4 separate regions of the Homo sapiens genome follow, and all the other regions are linked to region 1. The links are contacts of gene promoters, found by promoter capture Hi-C in blood cells and fetal thymus (Javierre and others, 2016). All regions are on one chromosome and are shown on one strand. Each heading gives the region's core, a stretch centred on a gene start or on the middle of the fragment in contact. The rest is flanking DNA. Distances are from core to core; before and after follow the strand shown.

Region 1 (7,908 bases), core at 2,312-4,811:
GCCTGTTTTTCAACCTGCATGCGCACTATCACTGTCTACTAGTAGTTTCCATTTCGCCCCTCTGCAGTCATTGGAGGCCCACCTAACTAAGCTCCACATTCTTCTCTACTCTAGCATTTGCAAAAGGCAGTGAATTCACATTTTAAAGGCAAAACACAAGCAAACCACTTGGTGGGACACAAGACAGTTCATCTTATCTTATTTTGAGCAGAGACACTATAGTTGAAAAACTCTTCTTTGCTCTAAATCTTCCTTCCTCTAAATCTGCTGCTCTTCCACAGCCTAACTTAAAATATTATAGATGTTGGATCAAATTTGCTTTCCTGTTCTTAGTTTTTAAAATCAAAATAATGGTTTTCTCCTCCTTCAAGAAAGTAAAACAAACTCCAAAACAAATTCAGAACAAAAAAGCCCTGATTGTGGCATTCAACTCTTACCTATGAGTCTCAAGGGGAGAAAAAAAAGAATTTCTTACAAGTGGGAGGGTTGACTTATGAGTAATACATATCACAAAGATCAACAAGCAGGAGCACATACTAGCAAGAAACTGTAAGACACACCTTTCCCAAACAGCTTGGCTAAACTGTGTGGCAAGGACAGCCAAGAAAACAGGCATTGGGCAGGTCTGGCAGGACCAGCAGGGCTCTTCTGCATAGCAAAGGAGTCATTCTCCATGCTTGCGATGAGTCTTGAGCAAAAGCAGAACCCAGAGGAGGCAGAACGCACAGCAAAGGCAGAGACTACTACAGTGGAGATTTAAGCTGAAAGGTGCTAAACCAGAACATTGGAAAAATAAAGTGGGGTTGGATTAATCGTTTTGTAAGTCAGAGGAGGAGTTTAGGCTGAATGAGACAGGTGACAGGAGGCTCTAGTAGGTTCCAGGGCAGGAGAATGACTTTTTGCAGGAGGATTACTCTAACACAAGTTGAACCAGGGAGGGAGGGAGCAATGAATGAGTAAAGGCAATGGAGCAAGGGAGGGGACACACAGGAATGAAAGTCTTAACCGCAGCAAAGGCAATAGAAAGGAAAGGAATGAATGCACGTAAGAGATTTTCAGAAGAAAAAGCAGGACTTAATCATGTCAAGCTTTTAAGCCCTGAGAAGTGCAGAAGATTGGATAGCTGGGGAGAATGGACGAAGGGGAATGCGCCTTAGACCAGCTGTCTGCAATCCAACTGACTAAAAAAGTTAAGCCCAGGAAAGCAAACTTGGTTCTATATCTACAATGCTGGCTTTCTGATTTGTTTTGTTTTGTTTTGTTGAGACGGAGTCTCGTGCTGTCGCCCAGGCTGGAGTGCAGTGGCGCGATCTCAGCTCACTGCAACCTGCCTTCCGGGTTCAAGCGATTATCCTGCCTCAGCCTCCCGAGTAGCTGGGCCTACAGGCGCGTACCACCACGCCGGGCTAATTTTTTGTATTTTTAGTAGAGATGCCACTGCACTCCAGTGTGGGTGACAGAGTGAGACCCTGTCTCAAACAGAAAAAAATAGGTAAATAAACATACATCCTTTCTTTCTGACATTCTCCGAGCGTTTTATTACTATTAATGGTTTTTTTCCGATTCTCAAGAACACGGTTTTCACCGTGTGACACAGGACAGTCTCAATCTCCTGATCTCGTGATCCTTCCACCTCGGCCTCCCAAAGTGCTAGGATTACAGGCGTGAGCCACCGCGCCCGGCCTACAATGTTTTAAGTTAAGCTTTGAAGAACTACACAGCTGAGTGCCCCGTCTCCTTTAAGGATGTGAAATGCAAACACTCACGATTTTTTGTTAAATCTAAGAACATCAGGAGATACGACTACTCAGATTCAAGGACACTGACATTACTTGACAAAGCAGGATGCAAAAAGAGGGCCCTTCCTGCCCACCCCGCAGACAGGGCTCATCATATGAGAGGCAAGTATCAAGAACGAAGGCTCTGGAAACAAACTCCCTAGGTCTGAATCCTGCTGCCCTACTTAGGAGATGGAAAAACCTAGAGAAACTTGGTTACCTAGGAGGAGCAACATACTGTGTTGCTTTTTGGTTTGGAAAGGGGGGGAAGTAGATAGAGGTGCTGAAGAGGTCTGAAATGCTGATTTAGGCAGAAGGTGAGTCACCACTTTGAGTTTCAGTTTCCCCAGCTGTTAATTAAAAAAAAAAAAAAAGGCGGGGTGGTGGTGGGGAGGATAAAATCTACCTTATTAGAAGCCATAAGGGCTGCACATTCCTTCTGAAGCAACCTGTGATGTTCTTAAGCGTTATGTAAATGTTAGTTGTAGGTAATATCAATACAAAGAATAACGCTATTTTTTGTTAACATATTAAATATCCGGCCGGGGTGGCTCCCGCGTGTAGTCCCAGCACTTTGGGTGACCGAGATGGGAGGATGACTTGAGTCCAAGAGTTCGAGACCTGCCCGGGCAACATAGTGAAATCCCCTACCAAAAAAAAAAAAAAAAATGAGCCGGGCGTGGTGGCGCGCTCCTATAGTACTAGCTACTCGGGAGGCTGAGGTGGGAGGATCACTTGAGCCCGGGAAGTCGAGGCTGCAGTGAACTGAGACCGCGCCACACTGCACTCCACTGTGGGTGACAGAGTGAGACCCTGTCTCAAATAGAAAAAAATAGGTAAACATAAATCCTTTCTTTCTGACATTCTCCGAGCGTTTTATTACTATTAATAGTTTTTTTCCGATTCTCAAGAGGAACTGAGATCCCAAAAAGGCTCAGAACTGCAGTAGTGGAGGCCCGGGACTGGGGGATAAAGGCTTAGGTGGTGGACGAGGCTGCGGGCCCAGCAACAGGCCTTGCGTACCATCCTGGGGGCCGGGGAACTGACAACAACAGGCGACATGCGCAGCGCACCCGATCCGTGCCACACGCTGTGCCTGCGCTTCATACACATCCCCCACTTTCATCCTCGCGACAGCCCTCTGAGGTAGGTACTTTCGTCAGCGCCACTTTACAAATGGGGAAACTGAGGCTCCGGGGATCAAGCCGCTATCCAAGGTCACATGGCTCGCGAGCCGAAAAGGCACGTTCGCTGGCTCCCGAGACTGCGTTCCCAACCCAGGCGCATCGCGGCGGACGGCGGGGGCGGGGAGGAGCGGGAGCCCGGAGACCCGGACCGATCGAGGCCGCGGGCGCGCGGGGGCGGCGGCCGGACTCACCTTGGCGCTGTGCACCGCCTCCTGCGCCCCGCAGAGCTGCAGCCAGATGCGCGCGGGCAGCGGCTCCTCAGCCCCTAGCGCGCCGAGCACGGCTAGGCTCACGCCAAACAGGCCCTCGATACGGCCGCGGCTCTGCTCCAGCAGCTCCGCCTTCTCAGCTGGCGCAGTGAACTCGTCCAGCACCGCCCGGGCCGCCATGGCGGGCGCGGCCTCCCGCGGCGGCGCCGGGGGCCGGCGGCGGCGACGCCCCCTCAGCTTGCTGCCGCTGCTCCCAAGCCAGTCAGGCGGCGTCGGCCCTTCCCGGCCGCCTCGCCCCCGCCCGCGCCCCGCCGCCCGCCCTCAGGCCCGGCTATACCATCCCGCCACGACCGCAGCAGCTTGGCAATTGCTGGCAGCGAACCCCTCCGCCCCTTTGCCGCCGCCGCGGGCCGGGCCCCGCCGCCGCGCATGCGCCCCGGCCGCAGCCGTCATTGAGGCTCGCCGCCCCCTAGGGGAAGGGAGTAGGGTGAAGGCGACGGAAGTTGACGTCACCCTCAGTCGCCATGTTGGTTGAGAATAAAGGGATGGTTTTGGAGGCCTGGGCGGACTTCTTTGATGAGGGGAAACCGCTTTCGCGGGATCTGGTGGATGTAGATATATGGGTTTATAGTTGGGGAAACTTAATTGCCAGGAGGCGAGACTGAGAGTGTCACAGGGATTGGACTTGACCTCAGACATCTTGACGCTCAAACCAGGATTCTAGCAGTTGAGTTATTCAGTTTCACGTTAATCCACAGGCAGACGGGACTTTTCTTTCTCTGTTTCTTCCCTTCCTCCCTACCCTTTTACCTTCTTAGCTGCCCTTCTCACTTTTTTCTCTTTCCCTTTTTATTTCTTTCAGTAAAAATGGTAGCAAGAAGAGAAGAAAATGGGCATACTTACGGAGAATTGAAAATCAAAAAAATGATTAAGATAAATTCAAGAAGGCCGGGCGCGGTGGCTCACGCCTGTAATCCCAGCAGTCTGTGGGGGCAGAGGCGGGTGGATCACTCGAGGTCCGGAGTTCGAGACCAGCCTGACCAAAATGGAGAAACCCCCGTCTCTGCTAAAAAAAAAAAAAAAAAAAAAAAAAAAAAAAAAAAAAAAAAAAAAAATTAGCGCGGCGTGGTGGCACATGCCTGTAATCCCAGCTACTAGGGAGGCTGAGGCAGGAGAATCGCTTGAACCCTGGAGGCAGAGGTTGCGTGCGGTGAGCCGAGATTGCGCCATTGCACTCCAGCCTGGGCAAGAAGAGCGAAACTCCGTCTCAAAAAAAAAAAAAAAGATAAATTCAGGAGAGTGATTTCTTCTGTGAGGGAAGAAAGGGGATATGTTATGGGAGAAGCCCGAAAAGTGGGAGTTTGGGGGCTCACTCATGATCTTCCCTGGGACTGGAGCAAATAAACCCTAACCCCTCTCCAGGTCTGTTTTCTGATCTGTAAAATAAAAGAGTACACTCAGTTATCTCTAAGGCCTTTTCCAGGCCTTTATATTCTCTGAGTCCATGAAAACAGATTGTGGAAGATAAAGTGTTGGATTCCTTTCCTTCAGCTAAATATTGTGGCTATAGTAGATAGGGGCTCTGGGAATATTACCTCTCTCTGTTTTAATTTTTCATCTATAAAATGTAGATAATAATAGTACTTCCTATTGTGAATATTAATACAGCACCCAACACTGTAAGTGCTCACTGAACATTATTATTGCTAACTTAAGCAATATATTTAAGGCCTAATTTTCAGGGAAAATCTTTGTGTGGATTATGCAACCACAGTGAACTTGTGGGCCCAGGAGTCTGTGCCATCTGTGTACATCCCTGCTAGAGGAAAAAGAGGAGGAGCTAAAGATGCTGTAGTTGGAAATACCAAGGGGGAATGGTCTCTGTAGGAGGATTTACCCAAGGTAAAACCTATGAGAGATCCAGGCTTCTGGGGGTTTCCATATGTCTCAGAAACTCAGGTGTGGTCTCCCAGTGCCCCACCAAGAAGTGATTCAGCACAGGGAAGAGAACCACTAGGCTCACAGATCAACAGATTCCTGCTCCCCTGGGCTTTTCCCTTGATGTCCACACAACCAGCAGCCTTGCTCCATCAGGTAGATGACGTGGGATTGGCTGAGGCAGGTCAGGTGGCGAGTGTGGCATTGCTGATGCATTGCTTGCAGAACCGCAGTCTATCAGTAAGGCATGTTGTCAACACAGCATGTTATTTCCTGCCTTATTGCACTCACCTTAAACGGAATTGCTATTGTTCAGTGATTAGACAGGGCTTTCCCCAGGGCTGGTTCCTGTTTGCTCCCAGTGACTTCCCTGCTTGCGATTCTTAATTGCTTAATTGTAAGAGGTGAAGAGGGAGGCTGCCTTGAAAAACACACCACAGTGCCTTCCTCTCCCCACTTCCCTCCAAAAAAATCCCACCCAAAACCAACAGAAGCAGTGCATACACACACCCTTAAAAAATGCTGGGCCAAGAAGCTGTGCTAATAAGTCACTGGGTTGGTGTATAATTGAAGATACATAGTTTTGGGAGGTTTTTCCTCCAGTTTTAATTTAAGACTTGCCAGGCTGGGTGTGGTGGCTCACACCCGTAATCCCAGCACTTTGGGAGGCCAAGGAGGGCGGATCACTTGAGCCCAGGAGTTGGAGACCAGCCTGGCCAACGTAGTGAAACCCCGTCTCTATTCAAAATATAAAAAATTAGCTGGGTGTGGTGGCACATGCCTGTAATCCTAGCTACTCGGGAGGCTGAGGCAGGAGAATTGCTTGGACCCCGGAGGCGGAGGTTGCAGTGAGCCAAGATCGCGCCACTGCACTCCAGCCTGGGTAACAAGAGCAAGATTCCATCTCAGAAAAAAAAAAAAAAAAAAGACTTGCCAGTTCATATTTGATCAGCATTTCCCTTTAGGGAACTCTCAAGGTTTCCTGAGTGTAAGGAACAAGGAGAAAGAGAGAGAGAAAAAAAAAATCCCCTTTCAAGAACTTCCTTGCTTCATGCTGTTTCTCACTCAACCACAACTTCCCTCGGTTAACCAGCCTTGCCTATCTGGCTGGCCTGACCAGCCAGGACAGTCGATGCCAGAGATGAAACCTTATGAATTCTGTATTCTAGATACTTTAGCTGTGTTTTTCCTTAATCTCATAACAACCTCAAGAGCCCATAAAATGGTATTGAGAGAATCACTTATTTTTGCTTCTCATATTTTCAAGGACAGGAGGAGATTCCTATTCCATTCCCCAGCGGGGCCAAGTGTGGAGGAACATGTCTATCTAGCTTTCATTCTCCTTTTCCCCAGAGCAGGAGGAGGATTTCTCTGACTGATAACTTTCTGAGAAGGTGGGGTGCTGGGTTGGACCGCCCTGTACCCTGGTAATGGGCTGTCTGCAGTTGCTGTGTTAGTGACTGGGGGTAAAGTATTTTCACTTCAACCACATCCTCCAGTCTAGCTCTTGTCAGCAATGATGATGACATTTTGATCTCTACCTGCTTTTCTTCCTTAGTTCTGAACTCAGAAGGGGCAGAAAGAGTGTTTATTGGTCTCCTAAAACTCCAACAGTGGTTGCTATTGTTTTTCTTCCTGTTTCAAAGATGAGGAAACCAGCCGGGGGTGGTGGCAGGTGCCTGTAGTCTCAGCTACTTGGAAGCCTGGGGTGGGAGGATTGTTTAAGCCCAGGAGTTCAAGGTGTGCCTGGGCAACATAGCGATATCCTGTCTCTTACCTGCCCCCCCACAAAAAATGTAAATTAAGGGGGAAAAAAGAGGAAACAGAAGAATAGAGAAATTCTGGAATGTTCCACAGAGCTAGTCAGTGAAGTGGTAGAAATAGCCATTTGAATCCAGGCAGTCTGACTGTAAGCAGGCAGCTTGGCTTCAAACTGCATTTTAAAACCTTGTTTTCTTTCCTTCTTTCTCCCCAGTCTCAAGATACAACTTTGAGACAAGCTGCATATGTGTTTCCTGTCATCTTGACATACAGCCTTGGAATGGACTGTGAACCTCCACTCCCTATCCTTCCCCATTCCATTCTCCCATGCCATATGCTCATTTATTTACCCAAACACTCGTCAAGCACATACCATGCTCACTTATCTGGTCATGTATTTCCTTAGAAGCCTCAGGGGCTGGATTTTTTTTTTTTTTTTTTTTTTTGCGATGGAGTCTTGCTCTGTCTCCCAGGCTGGAGTGCAGTGGTGCCATCTCAGCTCACTGCAACCTCTGCCTCCCGGGTTCAAGCAATTCTCCTATCTCAGCCTCCCGAGCAGCTGAGATTACAGGCATGCACCACCACATCCAGCTAATTTTTTTTTTTTTTGAGACGGAGTCTCGCTCTGTCGCCCAGGCTGGAGTGCAGTGGCGGGATCTCGGCTCACTGCAAGCTCTGCCTCCCGGGTTCACGCCATTCTCCTGCCTCAGCCTCCCAAGTAGCTGGGACTACAGGCGCCCGCCACTACGCCTGGCTAATTTTTGTATATTTAGTATAGACAGGGTTTTGCCATGTTGGCCGGGCTGGTCTCAAACTCCTGACCTTGGGCGATCTGCCCACTTCGGCCTCTCAAAGTGCTGGGATTACAGGCCTGAGCCATTGCGCCCATCCAGGGGCTGGATCTTGACATGGACCGTATGCCTCCAGAATTCTCTCCCCGGTCAAGGCTGAAATTTACTCCTGGCTACACTCACTCACGTTTACTCATGCTCACGCACTAGAAATTAACTGCAAGATTGGCTGAAGTTCATTTGT
Region 2 (7,908 bases), core at 3,254-5,753, 440 kb before region 1:
CAGACACCAAGAGAGGGCTCTCGGATCTCACGCAAGAATGAATTCAGGGCGAATCCATAGAGTAAAGTGAAAGGAAGTTTATTAAGCAAGTAAAGGGGCCTGGCACGGTGGCTCACGCCTGTAATCCCAGCACTTTGGGAGGTGGAAGCGGGCGGATCACGAGGTCAGGAGAGCAAGACCATCCTGGCCTAACATGGTGAAACCCCGTCTCTACTATAATACAAAAAATTAGCTGGGCGTGGTGGCGGGCGCCTGTAGTCCCAGCTAGTTGGGAGGCTGAGTCAGGGGAGCCGCTTAAACCAGGGGGGCGGGAGCGCGGAGGTTGCAGTGAGACAAGATCGCGCCACTGCACTCCAGCCTGGTGACAGAGCAAGACTCCGTCTCAAAACAAAAAAACAAGTGAAGAAATAAAAGAATGGCTACTCCATAGAGCAGCCCCGAGGGCTGCTGGTTGTCCACTTTTATGGTTATTTCTTGATGATATGCTAAACAAGGGGTGGATTATTCATGCCTCCCCTTTTTAGACCATATAGGATAACTTCCTGACGTTGCCATGGCATTTGTAAACTGTCATGGCGCTGGTGGGAGTGGAGCAGCGAGGACAACCAGAGGTCCCTCTCTTCACCATTTTGGTTTTGGTGGGTTTTGGCCGGCTTCTTTACTGCATCCTTTTTTATCAGCAAGGTCTTTATGACCTGTATCTTGTGCCAACCTCCTATCTCATCCTGTGGCTTAGAATGCCCTAACCATCTGGGAATGCAGCCCCGTAGGTCTCAGCCTTATTTTACCCAGCCCCTATTCAAGATGGAGTTGATCTGGTTCAAATGCCTCTGACAACATCACCCCAACTCATGCCTCTAGAACCTCTAAAAAAATTCCATGACCTCCTCTCCGCCAGTATGGAATTGAAAATAAAAATAATAACAAACCATCAAATAAATATAACAAAGCACAGCAAAGCCCTGCATTCTCTCATTATAATTATTTTAGTATTATTTTTGAAAGACCAAATACCAATTTTTAAATGTTTATCATAAAACATTTCTGAAACCTGAAAAGGTGAAAAGAATTATTAAAAATCAAAGCCTCATACACTCACCACTCAGCTTAAGGAATAAAATATTACAATATTGGCTGGGCGTGGTGGCTCACAGCTATAATCCCAACAGTTTGGGAGGCGGAGGCGGGTAGATCACCTGAGGTCAGGAGTTCAAGACCAGCCTGGCCAGCTTGGCAAAACCCCGTCTCTACTAAAAATACAAAAATTAGCCAGGTGTGGTGGCAGGCACCTATAATTCCAGCTACTCAGGAGGCTGAGGTAGGAGAATCGCTGGAACCAGGTGGCAGTGAGCAGAGATCGCGCCACTGCACTCCAGCCTTCACAACAAGGTGAAACTCCGTTTCCCTCCCTCCCTCCCTCCCTCCCTCCCTCTCTCTCTCTCTCTCTCCATATATATATATATATATGTAAAATCAATGTTGTTTAAAAAAACTAATGGTATTTTTCAAAAAATTCTGCTTTATTACTGCTCGGAGCCAATGGTTCTCACATTTTGCTGCTGGAGGTGGGGACGGGGGCAGATGGGATGGGGCTCTGCACACTGAGTGGAAATGGGCTCTATTTCCTGTCCTCTGACTCCAGGGGTCAACACTTTTGTGGCGAATTATCTCCGGGGATCCGGCCAGCTCAGAAGCCCAGTGGGGCCATCACCGCATTTTTGGGACGAGGCTGCCATCTGCTGGTCGCTCAAGGAAAAGACGGCAGCTGCATCTGGCCTGGGGAGGGCCAGTGTGTAGAGAGCTCCCTCACCCGTGATGAGGGCAGTGTCCCACAGCAGTTCTGGGAATGGGGAAGCAGAGGAAGGAGAGTCACCCTCAATGGGCAGATGAGCAGCTGAACTGTGATGGGATGGTAGCATATGGGGTTCCCAGGGACACTTCAGGGCCCAAAAAAGAAAAAAGCCAGGACTGAGGGGAAGGGAATAACAGAGCAAAGGTTTTTTAAGAAAGATAAACCCCCTAGAAGGAGAAGCAGGTGCCACTAGAGAGTCCCAAATGGGGAACAGAAGGTTCGCGCTCCAGGGCACCGGACTTCTCCTGTTCCGTCCAAGGATTGCATCAGCCCCTGTAGTAGCTCATTCCCGCAGGGATTTGTTTGCTGTTCTCTCTGCCTTGAACATTCTTTCCTGCCCCAGTCCCCTTCCTTGGAGTAAATGTTTGTTCAGTGCTCAGGTCTCAGTAAACTGTGCCCACACTGCCTCCAGGAAGTCCCCGGGGGCTGCCTTTTCCTCTGCATCCTGTTCCTGCTTCTAGCCTCAGGTAGCCCTGTTCTGGATCGGCCTGTTTACTTGTTTACAGTTTTACTGTTTACTTACCCTCACGAGATTCCAAATTCCCTGAGGGCAGGGACACCATTTCATCCCCAGCACCAGTGCAGGCAAGAGAGTGAGAAATATTGGTTTACTAAATTGATTTTTTATGGCATTTTTTGAAAATCAGACATCATAATCTGGAATAAAAAGGAAAGTACTTTGAAACATATTTCCCCCAACAACAAGGTCTCCCCAGAAGTAAGTTGAAAATGATTGCCTTTTCTATTTGTCTGTAACCACATGTGGAGGGTGGGGGAGTGAGAACAAGAAAGAGAGAAAACAAATTATTTTATTTTCAGTTGTCATACGTTGTAAGTTATGCTGCTCTTCAGTAAACAATCATAGTAGACAGCTGCTATCTGGGGCCTGGCCAGCATCCATATCCATTCTTCCCTCAGGCACAATTTTACTTTGGTGAAACAACCTCTTCTATTCTCAGTCTACATGATCTAGGGCAGCAAATCCCATCCCCAGGCCCAAATATGGGCATGTGGCTCAGGCCTGGCAAATCACAGTATGCCAACAGCCTAGCACATGATTGATCAGGAACAAGCACATGACCCAAGCTGGCCCAGTGAGATTTCACCCTGGAATCATTGAGGCAAGAAGACCTGGGGGGTGCAGAGTGTGTAGGACGTGAACCTGGAGCTGCAGGCAACCATATTGCCACCATGAGGCAAGAGGAAGTTAGAAAGTGAAGCCAAACAAAGGAAAGCAGAGCTAGGAGAAGAGAAACAGAGACCTCAAAACAGGCATCCTTTCATTCCGGCACCCAACCTTGAACTTTTTCTGTATCTTTCTGTTACAAGACCAACAAACTCTTTTTTTTTTCCAAAGTTAGTTTGAGGGAGTCTCTGTTCCTTGCAACTGAATAAGTACTAGCTAACGTAAAAAGCAGAATGAAGATGGCTGGGTGCAGTGGTTCATGCCCATAACCTCAGCACTTTGGGAGGCCAAGGCAAGCGGATCACTTGAGATCAGCCTGGCCAACATGGTGAAACCCCGCCTCTACTAAAAATACAAAAATTAGCCAGTCATGGTGGCACATGCTTGTAATCCTAGCTATTCAGGAGGCTGAGGCAGGAGAATTGCTTGAACCTGGGAGGCAGAGGCTACAGTGAGCTGAGATTGCGCCACTGCGCTCCAGCCTGGGCAACAGAGCAAGACCCTGTCTAAAAAAACAAAAAGAAAAGAAACGAAAGGAAGCAGAACAAAGAAAGTGAGTTTTCCTTAGTTTTATATTTTACAAAGTCAGTACAGCATTTGCAACACTTCTAACACAGATCAGAAAACTATAAGCTTTTACCTTATTATAAAATTATTCAGCATGTAAGTTAAAAGGAGAACCACATGATCACTGAATCCCATGTCTTAGATGGTTCTGGGGTTCTAAGGTCTTGAGAGCCATCAAGTAGCCTATTCCAGGGTTTCCATCCAGCAATCCCCACCCCCCCTACATTTACCCCTGCTTCCAGGAGAAGTTCTCATCTCCAAACAAGAAGGTCGCAGACTGTGGGCCTCGAAGCTGCACCTGTGTGAACCTCTGAGCTCAGCTGCCAGCCTCCATGAAGTCTCCACATCTCCTTATCTCAGTGAAGAAGTGGCTGTGGCCATGAGGGCTGCGAACAATGACCCAGGCTTCTTCCGCAGTACCTCCGGCCGATCAAATTCTACCACCTGGAGGGTAGAGAAAGGCGAGGGGAGGATCAGGGCACAGCTGAGCTTGTGTCCTTGGAGGACTCAAAGGCATCTGGGGTAGCAGCCTGAGCCCTCATCCTCCCACCAGCCCAAGGACGCAGCCTTCACCTTCCCATTGCCCATAACCAGGATGTGGTCACAGTTCAGCACAGTGGTGACACGGTGGGCAATGACGAGCACGGTGCAGCCCTGGAAGGCTTCACGGATTGTGCGCTGGATCAGGGTGTCTGTCTCCATGTCAATGGAGGCTGTGGCTTCATCGATAAGGATGATCTGATGAATACAAAACAGGGGTGAAGGTGTCTACTTCAGGCCCTAGAGACCTGGGTCTAGCCCTGGTTTACCACTAATTCACCAGGGCCCTTCCTCTCCAGGTCTCCATTTCTTTAGCTGGGAAATGGGAGAATTATGCCGAGTGCAAAGCCCGCTCTGATTGCTGATTATCCATTACCTTATGAAGAGAACGTTAGGTCTCAACCAGGAGCTAACTGCATTTTAGTGGCCAGAGAATTAAGTTCTTGGAAATGAAAATGGCCTAGTGGCAACTTCTTGTTTTATTAACTACTTTCCCATTTACCGAAACTAAAGTAGAGCGGTGTTCTCCAAGAAGGGGCAGGCACACACCCCAGGAGGCACATGAGATGATTTCTCCAGCATATGGATAAACATTCTTTTTAGTTTAACATTTTTGTATTTATTTCATTAACGATATGCATGAGGAAACTGTAACTCACACTGAAAGTGTGATTTCACAAATGGCACTGCTTGGGATGAGGCTGTTTTTGAAAAGGGAGTATCATTAGTAAATCACAGGGTAGGTGGTACCCAGAGATGACAAAAATCATAAAGTAATGACTCAAATTTGGGAAGCAATACAGAGGAAGCCATTGCAGCACCAAATGGCTATGTAATTGAAATAAGGAAGTGTGAAGAAAGTACTACATGTACTTTGCAAATTTGTTGTTCATCTCTCCAAAGAAGAGGGGGAAAGTCCTACCTCCTCTGAAATTTTCCCAGGCTTTGGGCCCCACTGAGCTCTTTTCCCACAGCTCTGACAGTTTGCACCAACAGTTTTTGCATTTATCATTAATTAACCATGATACATGTGTGTGAGCATGCATACATGTGTGAGTATGGAGAAGGTATGTGCATATGCATGCATAAGTATGTGTGTACATGTGTGTCTTGCCTCGCCTACGTAGGAGAAGGTTTGCCCCAGGCTATCTCACATACTCAAACACCTGAAATTATGGACAAAATATCTAGAAAGCTTCTGGAAGCCCTGTTCCGCCAAATTTTTAAAAATATGCAATTTTGCAGCCATAAAAAAGAATGAGTTAATGTCCTTTGCAGGGACATGGATGAAGCTGGAAGTCATCATTCTCAGCAAACTAACACAGGAACAGAAAACCAAACACTGCATGTTCTCATTCACAAGTGGGAGTTGAACAATGAGAACACATGGACACAGGGAGGGGAACATCACACACCAGGGCCTGTCAGGTGGTGGGGGGCAAGGAAAGGGAGAGCATTAGGACAAATGCTTAATGCATGTGGGTCTTAAAACCTAGATGATGGGTTGATGGGTGCAGCAAACCACCATGGCACATGTGTACCTATGCAACAAACCTGCACGTTCTGCACATGTATCCCAGAACTTAAAGTAAATTTAAAAAATATATATATATGCAATTTTGCCCTGGATCAGCATCTGTCATCCAATTCCCAGTTCTAATAAAGATAAAAGGGATGTACTGCATCCAAGTTTTTAAAACAGTATACAGTAGGCAATTTAAAAATCAACGAGGGTCTAATGTGTTGTGTTTTTCTGAGAAAAGAGGATCATCATTTGGTCTAGTTGGAGACATTTCAGCTCAGGTGTAAGGAATCCGCTATCAGGCAGCCTAGGCTGTGAATCTCATCTACCATGCCTCACCCACACCACAAATGCATGTGGAATGGCACTCAGTGAAATGAATAAGCCCATCTTGAATTAATTTTTGTAGAAGGTGTAAGGAAGGGATCCAGTTTCAGCTTTCCACATATGGCTAGCCAGTTTTCCCAGCACCATTTATTAAATAGGGAATCCTTTCCCCATTTCTTGTTTTTGTCAGGTTTGTCAAAGATCAGATGGTTGTAGATGTGTGGAAATAATTAAGAAAATATGGCACATATACACCATGGAATACTATGCAGCCGTAAAAAAGGATGAGTTCATGTCCTTTGTAGGGACATGGATGAAGCTGGAAACCATCACTCTCAGCAAACTATTGCAAGGACAAAAAACCAAACACTGCATGTTCTCACTCATGGGTGGGAATTGAACAATGAGAACACTTGGACACAGGGTGGGGAACATCACACACTGGGGCCTGTCGTGGGGTGGGGGGAGGGGGGAGGGATAGCATTAGGAGATATACCTAATGTAAATGACGAGTTAACGGGTGCAGCACACCAACATGGCACATGTATACATATGTAACAAACCTGCACGTTGTGCACATGTACCCTAGAACTTAAAGTATAATAATAAAAAAAAGGAAATGAATAAGCCCTTTGGATTCTGTTGCTGTTGTTGTTGTTGTTGTTGTTGTTGTTAAGACGTACACCACAGAGCCCAGTGTCCCACGGTAGTGAAGGGAGAGGGAGCCGGTGTGGCTTCCCTCATCATGCGTAGTCTGTGGCTTCCCCTGGCCACACGGCAGTGGTGGCCTCACCTTGGAGTTGCGAAGCACAGCCCTGGCAATGCAGAGCAGCTGCCTCTCCCCCACAGAGAAGTTTCCACCGTTTTCCACCACATCTGTATGCAGCTTTTTGGGGAACTTTGAGATCTGCGATATGGGAAGAAGAGACAACATAACCTGGAAGCCACTGTGGGGTGAGACCCAACCTGACCTTGTCAATCTTCCGCTGTATTGGCAACACTGCCCTCCTCTCTCTACGCTCCAGCCTCTGTTTTCTTGCTCCTTAACTGCGCCTTGCTCACTCTCGTCTCTGGGCCTTTGCATACGCTAGCTCCTGTGCCCAGAATGTCCTCTCAAAAGATCTTTCATCGGCTGCCCCTCAGTTCTTGGTCTCAGCTCAGCTGCCACCTGTTTAAAGAGACCTTGCCTGGCCACCCAATTGAAAAGAGCTGCTCCTGCCCTGACGTTTCTATGGGTCTCATGACTACCTATACAGCCCTTACCAGTATCTGAAAGTATCTCCTGCATTTACTTGTTGCCTTTATCTCCTATTGAATGTACGTACCAGGAGGACAAAGACCTCATCTGCCTTGTCTTTGCTGTGCCCCTGAGCCTAGAACAGTGTCTGGCACACGGTTGGTGTCTGAGTGCCATCAGCCTTGACTTAGGAATGCCAAGTCATCTCATCTCCATGAGATGATGCATCCATGACCCGAAGCAGCAGCAGCTGGAACACCACATGAGAGGAGCCCCAAAGGGGCAGCCCCCCATGGGCGATGCAGACTTAGACCAAGACTTGGGCCTTGGAGCTACTTACGGCCTTGGTCAGGAATGTCCTCTCCAAGGCATCCCAGATCTGCTGGTCAGTGTGACGGTCAAAGGGATCTAGGTTGAATCTACCATATGAGAGAAAGAGAAGTGTTCAACAACATCACCCAGGCTTTGAACACTCATTTATATGCCCAGTGAATGACCAAGAATGTTTAGAACTGGATTATGGGGTTTAGGGAAATTCATGGAACCACCACAAATGGAGATTTTTTGTGCCTCCCAGCACCTGTTCCTTCTGCAGGCAGCAGGCCCAGGTTTTGTTTAGGGGCCACCTCCTCCCCAGTCCCCCAGCCCATGTGTTCCAGGGCAGGCTCCACCATCCA
Region 3 (7,908 bases), core at 3,589-6,088, 380 kb before region 1:
CAGCTACTCGGGAGGCTGAGGCAGGAGAATGGCTTGAACCCGGGAGGTGAGTTGAACCAGTGAGCCGAGATGGCGCCACTGCACTCCAGCCTGGGCGACAGAGCGATACTCTGTCAAAAAAATAAAATAAAATAAAATAACACCACAGTAACAATAATTACTTAATGGCATTTAATGCCCAGTCTGTATTGAAATTTCTCTAATTATTTAAACATGTCTTTATAGAGTTAGTTTCTCTGAATCAAGATCCAAACAAGGTCTAAAGGAGAAATCTGATAGAACTCTTGAGCTGCATTTTAATCTGTAAGCGTTTCCCCTTGTCTGCATTTCTATGCCATTTATTTGTTGGAGAAACTGATTTTTATTTATCCTGTAGGATCTCCCACACTCTGAACTGGACTGATTGCATCTCCATGGTGTTGTCTAACATAATTGTTGATCCCTTGTGCTTCCTAATAAACTGGTCACTAGACCTAAGGCTTAATGAAATCCAGAATTCCAGCCGTTTGGCAAAAAAAAATGTAAGAGGTGATGAGTGTACTTCCTGTCGCCTCACATCAGGAACCACATGATGTCTGGTGTCCCACTTTTAGGAATGTTGGTGGGGATCAGTGGGTTAAGGTGTGTCAGCCTGGCTCCTTCATTATCAAGATCTCCAACACTGATGACCATTGCCTAGCGCCACCTCCACTAGTGCTGGAAAAATGATGAGTTTTCTAATTCTTCCATTCCTTCTGTATTTCGTAGTTTGCGTATATAGTGAGATCTCATCTTTAAACAAAAAACAAAAACGGAGTGATTGCAAAAGTGTTTGTGGACAGACATTGTAAGTAACGAAATTAAAAAGAGAATCAGTGAACTGGAAGAGAATGGAAAGAAATCAGGAGATCTTGTACTCACAATGGTTAGAGAAGAACAAGCAAACTCAAATTGACTTAGCTGGTTACCTATTAAGCATCAAGTGTGTTTCCAGGTACATTATTATTATTATTATTATTTGAAATGGAGTCTCACTCTGTCACCCAGGCTGGAGTGCAGTGGCGCAATCTTGGCTCACTGCAACCTCCACCTTCCGGGTTCAAGCGATTCTCTGTGTACTTTAAAAAATGAATTTATCACCTCTTTTGTTTCTTGCAACAATCCTATGAAGGACCATGAAATAAATTTATGATCCACTTTTTTTTTTTTTTTTTTTTTGAGATGGAGTCTCACTCTGTTGCCCAGGCTGGAGTGCAGTGGCGCAATCTCGGCTTACTATAAGCTCTGCCTCCTGGGTTCACGCCATTCTCCTGCCTCAGCCTCCTGAGCAGCTGGGACTACAGAGGCACCCGCCTCCATGCCTGGCTAATTTTTTTGTGTTTTTAGTAGAGATGGGGTTTCACTCTGTTAGCCAGGATGGTCTCGATCTCCTGACCTCGTGATCTGCCCACCTTGGCCTCCCAAAGTGCTGGGATTACAGGCGTGAGCCACTGCACCCGGCCAATCCATTATTTTATACATAAAGACACAGGGCCCAGAAAGGGAAACTTGTCTGATATCATAGTAAGAGGTGAGATTCTGACTAATATCTGGCATTATCCAAAAAGTATTTCCTGGAACCATTTCTTTTTTTCTTACCAAATAGGTCTGAGAAGGAATGGGTCAAAGTTTACCCAGTTTCTGTACTCCATGTGAAAACATGTGCCTTCAATGTGTTAAGTTGCTTTGTAAATCTCCAACACCTGGCTATAACACAACATTTCACAAACTCCTCTGACTACTGAATGCTCTTTATGGGGAGGCTCTTATGAGACTATAATTTCCAGAACACATTTGGAAACTCATTTTCCACCTGGTATCTCTCATGAAGCAGCTAGAGGTAGGAACATGAATACAGGATCTTTAAAATCACATATTCATATTCTCCCACCTTTTGTCCTCATATTACCGTGTGTGGTGGGTGGTACAAGAAATTTAATCACACAACTAGTTAGCGGTGGCTTGAGCACTGGGAGACTGGGCCACTTACCCAAAGTAATACTCAGTGCCACTGTTGAATGCCTGATCCAGAAGAGAAAATCAAAAGGGACTAGAAGTGGTCATTTCTAACTTTCTTGGGACAGGTGTGGTGGCTCACACCTGTAATCCCAGAACTTTGGGAGGCCAAGGCAGGTGGATCACCTGAGGTCAGGAGTTCAAGACCAGCCTGGCCAACATAGTGAAACCCCATCTCTACTAAAAATACAAAAATTAGCCGGACGTGGTGGCAAGCGCCTGTAATTCCAGCTACTTGGGAGGCTGAGGCAGGAGACTCACTTGAACCCAGGAGGCAGAGGTTGCAGTCAGCCGAGATTGCACCACGCTGCACTCCAGCCTGGGTGACAGAGAAAGACTCCATCTCAAAAAAAAAAAAAAAATAGTGATAAAAATAAAAGAAAAAAATGAAAAATAACTTTCTTGGGTTCACAAGCCTTGTGGTAAGTCTGATAAGAGATGTGAATTCTTGCTCCAGAGAAAGATCTCCAGCCCGTATGTACAAAATATCCATACCATTTTAGGAGATTCATGAACCCCACGTTAAAAACCCTCACCTAGTATGAGGCCTCTTCCTACAGGAAGAGCCAAGTCGTCTGGCATGGCCCCTCCCTACCACCCTTAGGCATCTCTGGTCATTATCCCACCAAGAGATTGTCTTTTAACCTATCCACTGGTTTGCCCAGCGCAGCTTCACCTTTGGACATTTTTGTCTGAGGCATCATGGACTGACAGTGGAGGGATGGTGTTCTCATCTAAGCGACTCCGTAAGCTTTGGATCATGAGCGGGGTGAGCCATGACACGGTGAGGTAGGAGAACAGGCCAGCATTGTCCAGGGGCTGGGGGGCAGGAAACCTAGTAGAGGGGCCACAAGGATAAGAATGAATTCAGGATCAAGATTTTGCAAGGATGAATGACAACCATATTAAAACACAACGAGGTTACCCAGATCTACACACAAACATGTTTTCATGACTCTTATTTGTAAGTTGAAAATCATAAACAACAAAAGTGCCCATTAATTGAGGAATTATTTAAACAAAAAGAGAGAAATTATGATCTACCCATACTATAAAATGCAAATGCAATGTAGATGTTTGGGGTTTTTTTTTTTTCAATAAGGTTTGTTTATATGTAAAACACAGGAAGAGTTCCAAGCAAAAGCCAAAAAAAAGCCACTTGCAGATTAAAAACTCAGTATTGGCTGGGCCCAGTGGCTCATGCCTATAATCCCAGCACTTTGGGAGGCCGAGGAGGGTGGATCACCTGAGGTCAGGAGTTCGAGACCAGCCGGGCCAACATTGTGAAACCCTGTATCTACTAAAAATACAAAAATTAGCTTGGTGTGGTGGTGTGCACGCCTGTAATCCCAGCTACTCGGGAGGCTGAGGCGTGAGAATCGCTTGAACCCGGGAGGCACAGGTTGCAGTGAGCCGAGATCACGCCACTACCACTCCAGCCTGGGAGACAGCGCACGACTCCGTCTCAAAAGAAAAAAAAAACTCAGTATTTTTTTCACTTATATAAAAAAGGAAGAAAGGAGAGAAAGCAGACAAAACAGTATGTACATTTATATCACATTGCTGATAGTGGTTGACATTGAAAAAGGAGTTGGAGTTGACAAAGAAATAGGAAGAGAGGTCCTCAAGGCTTTAATTCTTCTGTGAAACTTTTACAAACAATAAAATTGAATACATAAATAATTAAAGATGATAAGGTATTACCTTTAAGAATGATTTACAAATACCAAAAATGACTAAATTAGGGTATTGGGATTATGTGTCATTTTTCCACTTTTTTTTTTTTCAAAATTGCCTTTAAGTTTATGTGTTTCAATGGGAAGAAAATGCAATTCGAAAAGAGACTTGAGGAGAAAGATGGGAAGATGAAAATGCCGAACTTATAAGATTTCTTTTGGGGGGTAGGGGAGAGGGACTATGACGTCTTTTCTCTACCCTTTCATATCCTCACAGCATTCTCAACAAGGCTGGCCACATGCCATTGCCAGGGATATTGGAGCAAGGAGCGGGTGAGGGGAGGGCAAGAGATTGTACCATTTGTGATCACAAAAGACAGGGCAAGACCTATGAGCCAGTGCTAATATCTTAAAGCCCCAACAGAAACAATATATTTATCTAAGATGAGGTTACCCAGGTGAATGAAAGTACCAAGGTTCTTTGTTCTTGGTGGAGATAACATAATTCAATATGGTAACAATGTAACTAGTATTGACAGAAGCTCAGATTTTAAAAATGGGCAAACAAATGCAGTTTGTTGATAGATAAAAATCTTAGAAAACATGTTGGAAATCAACTTGGTTACTCCCATAACCAAGGCTGGTAACTTTTTTTTTTTTTTTTTTTTTTGAGACGGAGGCTCGCTCTGTCACCCAGCCCGGACTGCGGACTGCAGTGGCGCAATCTCGGCTCACTGCAAGCTCCGCTTCCCGGGTTCACACCATTCTCCTGCCTCAGCCTCCTGAGTAGCTGGGACTACAGGCGCCTGCCACCGCACCCGGCTAATTTTTTGTATTTTTAGTAGAGACGGGGTTTCACCTTGTTAGCCAGGATGGTCTCGATCTCCTGACCTCATGATCCACCCGCCTCGGCCTCCCAAAGTGCTGGGATTACAGGCGTGAGCCACCGCGCCCGGCCGGCTGGTAACTTTAATGTGGCCTTTGAGAACCTGTCTGATCCGCTTGCCTCTGCAGCCTCACCTCATGCCACACCCACATCACACAAGACTCTCCAGTGACACTGGCCTCCTTCTTTCTCAGTTCCTGGACACATCATGCTGTGTTCCTTGCCCCTCCAGGCAAGGCTGTCCCACAGGCTGTTCCTTGATCATTCTTCTCCTACTCTTGCTTAGGAAATTCTTGTTCTCCCTCTAGGTGTCACTCAGCTTAAGCCACTCAGAACCTACCAAGTTGTCATGGTTCTCCGGTCCCTCAACACTCGCATACTTCTTCACAGCACCTTCCTCAAACAGCTTGTAATCATGTCATGCACAAGTTTATTTGCTTATTGTCTTTCTCTCCCATGTGAGGTCCATGATGGCAAAGATCACGTCTGTTTGCTCACTGTTCTTCCCCTGTGATGTAGCACAGTGCCTGGCACATGTAGGTGCTCAATGATCCTTTCTGTATGAATAAATAATGAATGAATGGCTATGACGATGTGCCTCCCTGGTGTGCCTCAGGCTGCTCTGAAGGGATTTGGCTGTGTAGGGATGTAGTTATGCAACCTTCGTGAGAGGTCTAGTTGGGAGGGTTGGGGATCATTGCCCTGGTGGATACAGCTCTCTCCCACCACCCCCATCAGGACTCACCTCGGCTTGGGACGGAAGGGAATCATGGTTCTCAAGGCAGCATCATACTTCCCCCACGGTGGGACAGCTGCCCTCCCTGGAGCCTCAGGATTTCTCTCTTGCTGACTCCAGGGGCCATCTTGGAGAGTATAGGTTTTCTTGGAAAAGAAAAACAAAAGAGCATCAGTTTCAAATCTCGTAAATTCTGTCCTGAGGGAATGTTGGACCAGCTGCCCATGGAGAAATGGATTTTTCCATATCCTGCTTCCTAAAGAAAGGCTTCCATACCGAGAATAAGCAGGGGACCGAGAGTCAGGGCAACTGGATCCCAGCACTCGCTCTGACCCACATTTGCTGAGTGAGTCTGGCCCAGTCACTCTACCTCTTTGGATTTTTATCTGACAGTAAACAATTTAGACAGGAATAAAGGGTGCCATAGTTAGTTACCTGCAGAATGAGGGACCAAGTCACTCTTTGAGGGTAAATCTACTAAAAAGAAACCAACAAGTAAAAAAGCAAATCCTAAAATATTATATGTTTCCCTTTTGACAACTAAAATAAAAGGACAGGTAATTTTTAGGACTTCATATAGAATAAATAATATATTCTATATAAAATAATACTTTTTAAAAGCACAGCAAGGATTGACAGAAAGAGATTCAGAATAGTGGTTACATCAGGTAGGAAGGGTTGGGGAATGACATGGGGGAAGACCAATTGCTGCGTGTGATTGCCAAGGTCCAAGCTGATGTATTGGTGATGGGTTTGCAGATGCTTATTATTATTATTATTAATATGAGTAAATGCATAGATAAATAGGTAATAGGTGATAGAGAGATAGATACAATCTAATCTCTATATAATATTATGCATAGAGATATGCATAAACCATGAAGGTATGCCATGATGATGGATTATAATTGATCTCATTGTGGAAGCCTGAGGTCTATTTGAAAAAAATCAAGAGTAGCTGGGTGGGGTGGCTCATGCTTGTAATCCCAGTGCTTTGGGAGGCCAAGACAGGAGGATGGAGGCCAGGAGTTCATGACAAGCCTGGGCAACATAGGGAGACCCCCATTTCTGTGAAAAATTTAAAAATTAGCTGGGCGTAGTGGTATGTGCCTATAGTCCCAGCTAGCTACTCAGGAGGCTGAGGTGGGAGGATCATTTGAACCCAGGAGGTGTCAGTGAGCTATGATTGTGCCACTGTACTCTAGCCTGGGTGACAAAGCAAGACCCTGAGTCAAAAAAAAAAAAAAAAGAGAGAGAGAGAGAGCAAAAAGAGAAAAGAAAAAAAATTCAAGGGTAAATAAGTATGGGAAGAAATTGTTTGACGTAATTTATGACCGTGGAGAATATTCTGCCAACTCAGTTTCCTGGTGTGCTGATGCTAAGAGATCTACTTACATAAATAAGTCCTGAAACCATGTCATCGCCTATGTCGATGCCACGATTCACGAGGCCACCAGAAGAGTTGGGCACCCAGTATGTCCTCTTCCTAGTCATTTTCAGTTCCTGCCAATTCTTCGTTTCCCAGAATCAGAGAATATGAAAAGACAGCAGGAGTTAGAAGAAGCTTAGATCTCGCCTTGAGCAGCCAGAAGAGGGGGCACTACCCTGCAGGGAGCATATTGGGGCCATGCAGAGGTTTGGGTGCCTGCTCTTTCCTCTCCTTAGCCTGTGCTTGATCCCTCTTTTTAAACATCTTCTCAGGCCTCAGGCCCAAATCACTTAGTGAAACCTTCTCTAACCACCCTCCCCAACCCACCCCCAACACCGCACCCTTGATCCTGGGCAATCTCCTTTGATGTATCAAACCCCTGCTCATAAAATCAGTCTTCTTGCTTTATCCCAGTCTTTAACTGTGTATTTGTTTGAATCATTATTTGTTCAGACTTCATTTATGCACTACACAGAGAGCCTCATGAGCACAGGGACATGTCTGCTTTCCTCGCTGTTGAATTTCCTGGGCCTGGAACGTGCTGGGAGGAGAGCAGGTGCTCAATAAATGAAGAATGAATGGACACATATGTGAATGAAAGAAACATCATTTTCCCTGCTTTCACTCTTGGTTTTCACAGACCCCAGAAGGAATCTGGGGACAAGTTAGGAGACTTAAATAATCAGGGTTCTTTTTTTAAAAAAAAAATATGACTTTCATATTTGTTTTTCTGAGTATGTGACTCACTCCCTGCTTGACTCAGAATATTCATGTGCCTGGGACAGGAGAGAAGGTAGTAATTAGGAATATTCTGAAGAGATGGAAAGAGAAAGTGTGCAGCAGAGCCAGGGCCATGAGGGTGCAGCCTGTGCCCCCCAGGGCCCCACACTCAGAAGGGCCCCAGGCTCAGTTGAATGCTTTTCTGTTGCCATCCTGAAATTCTTAATAAATTTGAACAAGAAGACCCACATTTTCATTTTCATTTTCATTTTGCACTGTTACCCACAAATTATGTAGTTGGTCCTGGTGTTCAGATATAGCTTTTACCATTCAAATACTGAGGCTGGGTATGATGGCATGCACCTGTAATTCTAGCACTTTGGGAGGCTGAGGCGGGAGGACTGCTTGAGCTCAGGAGTTTGAGACC
Region 4 (7,908 bases), core at 2,015-4,514, 350 kb before region 1:
TAGGCTGTTAGCGCTCATCTCTGTGTGCCTTCACAGTCTGTCATACATGTCATTTAACATAATGCTTATCACATTGTATTGAAATGTATCTTATAGGTATTTTTTCTCTACCAAACTTGAATTCACTTTTCTCCTTTAGCCATCCTGTACTGAGCAGTGTTTTGGGTCTGGCAAATAGTTTGTACTCAGTAAATGTTTGGAAAATGAGTTTTAACTGTTTTATTTTCGTGGGGTGAATTCCTAGTAGCAAGGGTATTCAAATTTTATTATCTACTTCTTCCACCTGAACAGCTTCATCGTAATTATACTTTAATTCCCTTCATTCTAGGCAGGTAATGGATAAGTTCCAAAATTACGATGTTGTTGGAGAGGTTTGAATATTACTAGCACATGAAATCTGATTTGAACTGACTAAATGAAGGTTTAGTACATCATTATGAATTAGTGTGAACTAAGTTTTGCTATGTTAACTTCTCTGAAATCTCAGTCGCATAATGTGAGTGTCTTTCTGGCTCATGCTTCATGCCTGAGACTAGTGGGGGTTGTGTCTGCCTATTAAAGTCACTCGGACCCAGGTGGATTGGAGATTCATCTAAAGACATGCTTCCCTTATCTCTAAGGCAGGAAAAGGAAATGGGGCGCATCTCTCATTGGCTTGTAATGCTTCTGCCCAGAAGGAGCTGTCACTTCCACTACGTTTCATGGATCAATTTAAGACTCATAGACACACCTATTAGTATATTCGAAGGAAGTTAGAAAGAGCAGTGCCCAGAAGAAAAGGGGAGTTTGTCAGTAGCCCTAATGACTATCACAGTTACTGAAAGTGTGCCTTGGGCATAATCTATCTTAACTCCCAGATATACGCTGACAGTTGTTTTTCTAAAAGTCATTCACAGTGCTCAGATTCTAGTTAGTCCAAATTGATATGGTTTGGCTGTGTCCCCACCCAAATATCACCTTGAGTTGTAATAATTCCCATGTGTCAGGGGGCGGTGCCAGGTGTAGATAATTGAATTATGGGGGCGGTTCCCCCATACTGTTCTCTTGGTGGTGAATAAGTCTCACAAGATCAGATGGTTATATAAATGATAGTTCCCCTGCACACGCTGTCTTGCCTGCTACCATGTAAGACAGGCCTTTGCTTCTCCTTTGCCTTCCTCCATGATTGTGAGGCCTCCCCAGCCATGTGGAACTGTGAGTCCATTAAACCTCTGTCTTTTATAAATTACCCAGTCTCTGGTATGTCTTTATTAGCAGTGTGAGAACAGACTAATACAAAATGTTATACTAAATATTAATATTTCATCCTCTGATTGGCCGTGATAATAGCATCAACTATGCTAAATTTCTAATAATACACATATTTCTAATAATATGCATCTAATAGGGTTTATATTGTGATTATGTAAGAGAATATTCTTGTTCTTAAGAACAAGGGTCCTTAATCTGTCACAGGATTAGAGATTTAAAGAATAAGGATCTCGATTCTGCAGCTTATCCTCAAATGTTCATTAATTATGTGTGAGTGTGGAGAGAGAGAAAGCAAACATGGCAAAATGCCACTTTTCAGTTGGTGAATTCAATTGGTGAATCTGGAAGAAGGATGTACAGGAGTTATTGTATGATTCTTGCAACTTTTTTGTACATTTGAATTTTTTTCAATAGAAAGTTAAAAATAATCATGGCACAGGTTTACAAAACCCTTGTAAACATTAGTGTTAACTACTTTTAAGCCATTATTGCTTTTCATTCTGATTGATGTTTTGAAAGTACTTTTCTTTTCCTCTGAGGCCTGTAAAATACGTGGACTATATTAATCAGTGATCTTTCAAAAACAAAGACTGAGGCCCAAACATTAAACCTAGATGGAAATCTGATTTTTAAAAATTCACAAATAATGCCAGATTTCATTTAAAAGACTTTTTTTCCCCCTTCTAGTTGGTTGAAATGTTGGATATGTCTGTCCCTGCAGTTGCTAAATTGAGACGTCTTTTAGATAGTCTTCCAAGGGAAGCTTTACCAGACATCTTGACATCAATTATCCGAACAAGCAACAAAGAGAAACTCCAGGTACAGTGTTCCCTTTTGAACGCCAGGTTGCTTTGTCACTTTTTATTGAGATCTAGATAGTGAGTAGTTAAGTTTTGACCTTCAAGAAAAAGATATTGGAGACCCAAAGTAATTGAAATGCTTTTACATTTAAACTGACTTTCAAATGTGATTGTTTTATATTTTTGTTGACACAAGCAGCTCTTTTATTTTATATTTTTGTTGACACAAGCAGCTCTTTTATTTGCATAATCAGTAATGGTAGTCAATTTACAGAAAAAGTTAAAGCAAAGAATCATAAAAAGGTAAATATTTGACTGGGTGCTCACGCCTGTAGTCCCAGCACTTTGGGAGGCTGAGATGGGTGGATCGCTTGAGATCAGGAGTTCGAGACCAGCCTGGCCAACATGGTAAAACCCCATCTCTACTAAAAATACAAAATTAGCTGGGCGTGGTGGTGCGCGCCTATAATCCCAGCTACTCGAGAGGCTGAGGCAGGAGAATCGCTTGAACCTGGGAGGCAGAGGCTGCAGTGAGCCAAGATTGCACCACTGCACTCCAGCCTGGGCAACAGAGACTCTGCCTCTAAATAAATAAATAAATAAATATTTAATTTAACTTAAATATGTAGACATTCTTTGATTCACTATTTTTAAACGTGGAGCCATGGCCCTTCCCTTATGTGTGGACCTGCTTTCTTAGAATCTTCATCATGTTTCTTATATAAATCACACCTATGATGCATTACTTATAATTTTAAATTTATATTTATTTAAAGTGAAATGAATTTTAAAGACACTTGAAAAGTAATCCAAGTATAGAATCCTACATTTACATGACTTAATCCCCAAACTGTAATACTTTAAGTTTTCTTGCACACTTATTTTTAAGATATTTTTAAAGCAGTATTTTTAATGAATCATCCTAGAATATTTGTTTGTTTTCAGTGAAACAGCTCTTTCATATGTTATCAGTTTATTTAATACTTAAATCCAACTGTTATAATAGCAAATACAACTAACACAAACAGGTTGGTTATACACAGGAATTCAATTAATCCAGTGGGAGTAGAAGAGTTACAGGACTGCCAGAGAGCCCCCTGGCTGTGGGCGGCAGCAGTGTGTTTTACTGCGGGAACAGAGAGCGGCCTGTGCTCCGACAAATCACTAGTGAGAGTTGGTTGAGTGCTTCTGTTCTCTTGTGTATGTAAACATTTAATATTTTGAACCTATAATTTGTTTAGATCTAATATGAAAACACATTCTGGGCTTCAAGAGAGTAATTCCCAGAAAGAGTTGACGTCAACTGTGTGTCTGGTTTTTTCATCTTAAAAACACACAGCTTCGGCCGGGCGCAGTGGCCCACGCCTGTAATCCCAACACTTTGGGAGGCCGAGGTGGGAAGATCACGAGGTCAGGAGATCGAGACCATCCTGGCTAACAGAGTGAAACCCTGTCTCTACTAAAAATACAAAAAATTAGCCGGGCATGGTGTCGGGTGCCTGTAGTCCCAGTTACTCTGGAGGCTGAGGCAGGAGAATGACGTGAACCCAGGAGGGGGAGCTTGCACTGAGCCAAGATCTCGCCACTGCACTCCAACCTGGGGACAGAGCAAGATTCCGTCTCAAAAAAAAAAAGAAAAAAAAAAACCACACAGCTTCATTTTAAAGTGAAAAACCAAGATCCTGTTTTTTCTTTCTTTTTTAAGGATTCTGATATTCATCTCAAACAACCTTGCTGATTAATATAGTTCATTTGGTTGTCTTAGCCATAGTGTAGCTTTGAATACTGTTAATAATTTTTTTTTAACTTGGCAATTTAAACCATGGCTCTGACTGTCTGTTTTTGGATTGTGTGTTTCTGAGAGAGATCCTATTGATTGACTCACATTTCCTTAGATTTTAGATGCTGTGAGCCTAGAGGAGCGGTTCAAGATGACTATACCACTGCTTGTCAGACAAATTGAAGGCCTGAAATTGCTTCAAAAAACCAGAAAACCCAAGCAAGATGATGATAAGAGGGTAAATATTTATTTTAACCCATTTCAGTTTTGAAAAAAAAATAAGGAGAATAAAGAGAGGAACAAAGAAGAAAAGTTTATTGTCTCCTACCACTCGCACTACTGATAAAATTTAGGTGTTTCCCTCTCATCCTTTTCTTTGCCTGGATTTTTTTTTAAAGCATGTAAGCATTTTTCTCACTTTGTTTTGGTTATCATCCAAAAGGATAATTTACTGAGCCATTTCCCCTTTTGTGTTGTTTCCAATGTTTTGTGTATTGTAAACACTAACAAATAACTATGATGGGTGTCTTTGAGTATAACATTTTTTTACTGCATGTAATACTAAGAAACTAATACAAAACTCTTTCTTAAAAGGACTATATGTTGTGTCAAAATTTGGCTGTTTTCAACTTATAATAAGTTTCCATTTTTATTTAGTCAAACTCTTGATCTTTTTTTGTTTTCTAAGCTTAAGTCCTCTAACCTTCAGTGGCTTGATAAATATTCACTTTCCTTTCAGTTTAATTTTAGTTGATTTTTTAAAAAGTATTTAATTCTTTAACCCATATATTATTTTGAAGACAGCAGTTGTATTTTTCCCTCAAATAGCTTTTTGTTTGACTCAACACCACTAATTAAATAATCCTTCCCATCCCCATTATCATCTATTACATTTATATGTATGATGGGATCTGTTTGAAGTCTACCTTGATCTGCTGATTTTACTATTTTTATGTCTGGACAGAGTTTATATTAGGAAGATATATTTGATGTGGACAGGATGTGAAAATGGCATTTCTCTGAAGGTGTTGAGATGCAGCGCTCTGACTTAAGTTGAGGCGTTGAGAATTATGTTAGCAATTTGACGTTCATCAGCGCAGAAGTCTTGTCATCAAAGAGAATACATTGTAGAGAAAGCGGAGCAGAAGGGAAGAACTCCTCCCCGGTGGGACTAGAGAAGGGGCAGTCAAGTAGGCTGAGGAGAGAGATAGGAACAGTGATGATCATGCTGGCGATTAGTACTCCAGGACACCATGCTGTTTAAAACATGCAGAAAGCTGGATTATTTCTGGCTTGAGATCAGGTCAGGGACTCAATTACTCATTTTGTATAGAGAGACAAATCCACTGGGAGTTGCAGAAAACTGCAACTTACTCTCAGTAAAGTTTGCCATCACTTAAAATGAAAGTTTTTCAAAAGTGCTCCAGAAAATAAGCAAGAGACAGTTATTTAAAAAGTAGGAATTAGGATAATATTTGGAGTTAACCTAAAACTCTCTCCTTTTTGTTCCCCTAAGAGTTGAAAAGCACTGTTTTAGCAGTCAGGAAGGAAAAATGCATTAAAAAGTGCTTTTGTCTTAACAATGAAATCACTGATATGCTTATAAAAATCTCACTTTTAAAAAATATATAATATGTTCAGTTTTTTATTTATAATATTTTATCTGCTGATGACTTATGTAAGAATAAAAGCATATATTTAGTACTTGTGTTTTTATAAAATTAAATTTTTATTTACTGCTTTATGTTTTAAACATTTTTATATTTGAATGTATTAAATAGATAAATTTTCCAGGTTAAAAAATAAGTTCTGGGCTGAATGCAGTGGCTCATGCCTGTAATCCCAGCACTTTGGGAGGCCAAGGAAGGAGAATTGCTTGAGGCCAGGAGTTCAAGACCAGGCTGGGCAACATAGTGAGACCTCATCTTTACAAAAAAAATTTAAAAAATTAGCCAGCATGCTGGTGTGTGTCTGTAGTCCCAGCTATTTAGGAAGCTGAGGTGGAAGGATTACTTGAGCCAGGGAGGTTGAGGCTGCAGTAAGCAGTGTTCATGCCATTGCACTTCAGCCTGGATTACAAAGCTTGACCTTGTCTCAAAAAATAAAATGTTCTGGGGGCTTTTAAATTAAATGCTAGTATATAATTTTGCTCCAGTAGTGGTTGTTTATTCATGAATTTCAAGGAGCATATAAGGTAGTTTTAACATATGATAGAGAGATCATAGAGAATACAAAGGCCATTTGACTTTGCACAGAATATGTTTTTTAGATTTGAAAGAACAATTTTGGCAGGATGGGAACAGATGCCGAAGGCTCACTGAAGTAATTGATGAGGTAGGGGATCTGGTGGTTATAGCCACTTGCTGGAGAAGCAGAACTTCACAAGAAAGGAAGTAAATAGTGCGATAGTTAACTAGAAGAAACTAGAGGTAAGAAAAAAATATTTTGAAAGCAGGAAAGCTTTGAAGACAAAATAGAGCCAGTGGTGGAAAGGTTGAAGATGCTAGGAAGAAATTTTGTAATGTAGGAGATAAAATGGAATTTTTTTCAGTCACCAAATGGTAAGAAGTAATGTATTTCAAGAAAATAGTGGCTGCAATAGTAGCTCAAAGAAAGGTAATTCCTAGATGGTTTAATTATTTCTAGTATCCAGTTCCTTGAAATTTGTTTTCTCATGCAAGTATTATTGTAAGCATATACCAAAGAATCATGTCTACCTTACGTTGGTCTACTTCTGCAATTCTGCTGCCTCTCTGTATACAACTGCCTTTTGATTATCATTCTGAACTTCACTTCCTAAAGATAGAGACTGTAGTCATAAAAATATTTATTCAGCACCAGTCATAATCTTATGTGTACCTGGGTACTTCGTTTCCAATTTATTTTGACATACGGTTTTACTTTTCTGCTTTCTATGTTAGGTTATAGCAATACGCCCTATTAGGAGAATTACACATATCTCAGGTACTTTAGAAGATGAAGATGAAGATGAAGATAATGATGACATTGTCATGCTAGAGAAAAAAATACGAACATCTAGTATGCCAGAGCAGGCCCATAAAGTCTGTGTCAAAGAGATAAAGAGGTAAATTATAAAAGGCATTTGTTCATTATTGTTTTCATTCTTGGTACTCCTGATTAACACCACTTTCACTACTCTTTTCTCCAATACTGAGGATACATAATACAAATCTTCCACCTGCAGTGTGCTGTCAGGCAATATAACTCTTGCAGCTGCCTTTTTGTTGTCTGAAAGAACAGACCATGCTTCTTTGTTTATACGTAATGTTTGTTCAGTTAGCATCATATTCTTCACATGTGACTTTTCTTCTCTAGATTATAAACTCTCAAGGGCAAGGACTGTCCATTTCTCTTTGTACAAGACAAAGTACAGGGAAACCTTGATAACAGAATAGGATATATGGGTTGATTACATTTTCTGGATATCCCCAGTGTTAAACTGAAAGCCATTTTTCCTTTGCATACTTTTAACTTTATAACTCTTATTACATTTTCTTTTATTAGTGAATTGTAGTGAGCCTGCTTGAATGCTTAGTGACTTAATATTTGACTTTCTGAGGCTTACAGTTAAGAACATTAGTAATTGTAGTTGATGGGTATTTTATATTGCCTCTGACATTAGTTAATATATGTAGAACATTTATTATGTGCAGAACACTTTGCTAAGCATTGCATATATTATGGAAGTAGCATTTGTTATTAAATATATGATATTAGCTTGCTTTTATGAGCAGACCTCACTCATCTCTGATACAAAAAAAAATGTATTGTATTATGCATAGTTAGGCACTTACATCTTATTGTGATAAGTAAACCAATGGATATATGTCACTTGACTATCCCTGTGAGCTTAAAAGGGACACACACTAGTAAGGCCATATTTCCAGGTTAGAATTAGATATAATGTTTTCTCCTGCAGTTTGCAGGTATCTGCCTTATTTTGTTTTGTAAGTACCTTAAGTACTTAGAAAATATGAGAATACTTTGTAGAGAAAGCAGAGCAGAAGGGAAGAACCCCTCCCTGGTGGGACTCCAGAAGGGGCAGTTAAGTAGGCT

The links. The method cuts DNA at HindIII sites, captures the fragments that hold promoters and counts their contacts. A CHiCAGO score of 5 or more calls a contact.
Region 2: a contact is called between a fragment that was not itself captured here and the fragment with the promoter of N4BP1 in region 1, in 1 of 17 cell types (M1 macrophages). The highest score is 5.2, in M1 macrophages.
Region 3: a fragment that was not itself captured here is called in contact with the fragment with the promoter of N4BP1 in region 1 in 7 of 17 cell types (fetal thymus, M0 macrophages, M1 macrophages and 4 more); the score reaches 8.0 in fetal thymus.
Region 4: a contact is called between a fragment that was not itself captured here and the fragment with the promoter of N4BP1 in region 1, in 7 of 17 cell types (fetal thymus, naive CD8 T cells, erythroblasts and 4 more). The highest score is 8.3, in fetal thymus.

Annotation. Positions count from the first base shown.
Region 1 is chr16:48,606,619-48,614,526 of GRCh38, forward strand. N4BP1 (NEDD4 binding protein 1) reads right to left here and starts at 3,562. Exons shown (of 7, transcript NM_153029.4): 1 at 3,157-3,562. The coding sequence starts at 3,354. It overlaps LOC124903687 (a long non-coding RNA gene), which reads left to right and starts at 3,692. Exons shown (of 2, transcript XR_007065063.1): 1 at 3,692-3,900; 2 at 4,037-4,595. RefSeq lists enhancers at 2,693-2,742, 3,693-3,742, 3,753-3,832, 5,025-5,104 and a silencer at 3,053-3,652. The HindIII fragment of the contact is 6,560 bases long and covers 1,702-7,908 here.
Region 2 is chr16:48,163,318-48,171,225 of GRCh38, forward strand. It overlaps ABCC11 (ATP binding cassette subfamily C member 11), which reads right to left. Exons shown (of 30, transcript NM_001370497.1): 27 at 7,572-7,650; 28 at 6,788-6,901; 29 at 4,179-4,343; 30 at 2,456-4,049. The coding sequence ends at 3,957. Among named protein-coding and RNA genes, the nearest start is that of ABCC12, 11 kb to the left of the region's middle. RefSeq lists enhancers at 1,703-2,204, 2,205-2,704 and a silencer at 2,862-3,031. The HindIII fragment of the contact is 1,669 bases long and covers 3,670-5,338 here.
Region 3 is chr16:48,225,096-48,233,003 of GRCh38, forward strand. It overlaps ABCC11 (ATP binding cassette subfamily C member 11), which reads right to left. Exons shown (of 30, transcript NM_001370497.1): 2 at 6,728-6,844; 3 at 5,342-5,478; 4 at 2,711-2,869. The coding sequence starts at 6,826. Among named protein-coding and RNA genes, the nearest start is that of LONP2, 15 kb to the right of the region's middle. The HindIII fragment of the contact is 4,111 bases long and covers 2,784-6,894 here.
Region 4 is chr16:48,254,672-48,262,579 of GRCh38, forward strand. It overlaps LONP2 (lon peptidase 2, peroxisomal), which reads left to right. Exons shown (of 15, transcript NM_031490.5): 3 at 1,939-2,070; 4 at 3,947-4,069; 5 at 6,753-6,916. Among named protein-coding and RNA genes, the nearest start is that of ABCC11, 11 kb to the left of the region's middle. The HindIII fragment of the contact is 2,505 bases long and covers 2,013-4,517 here.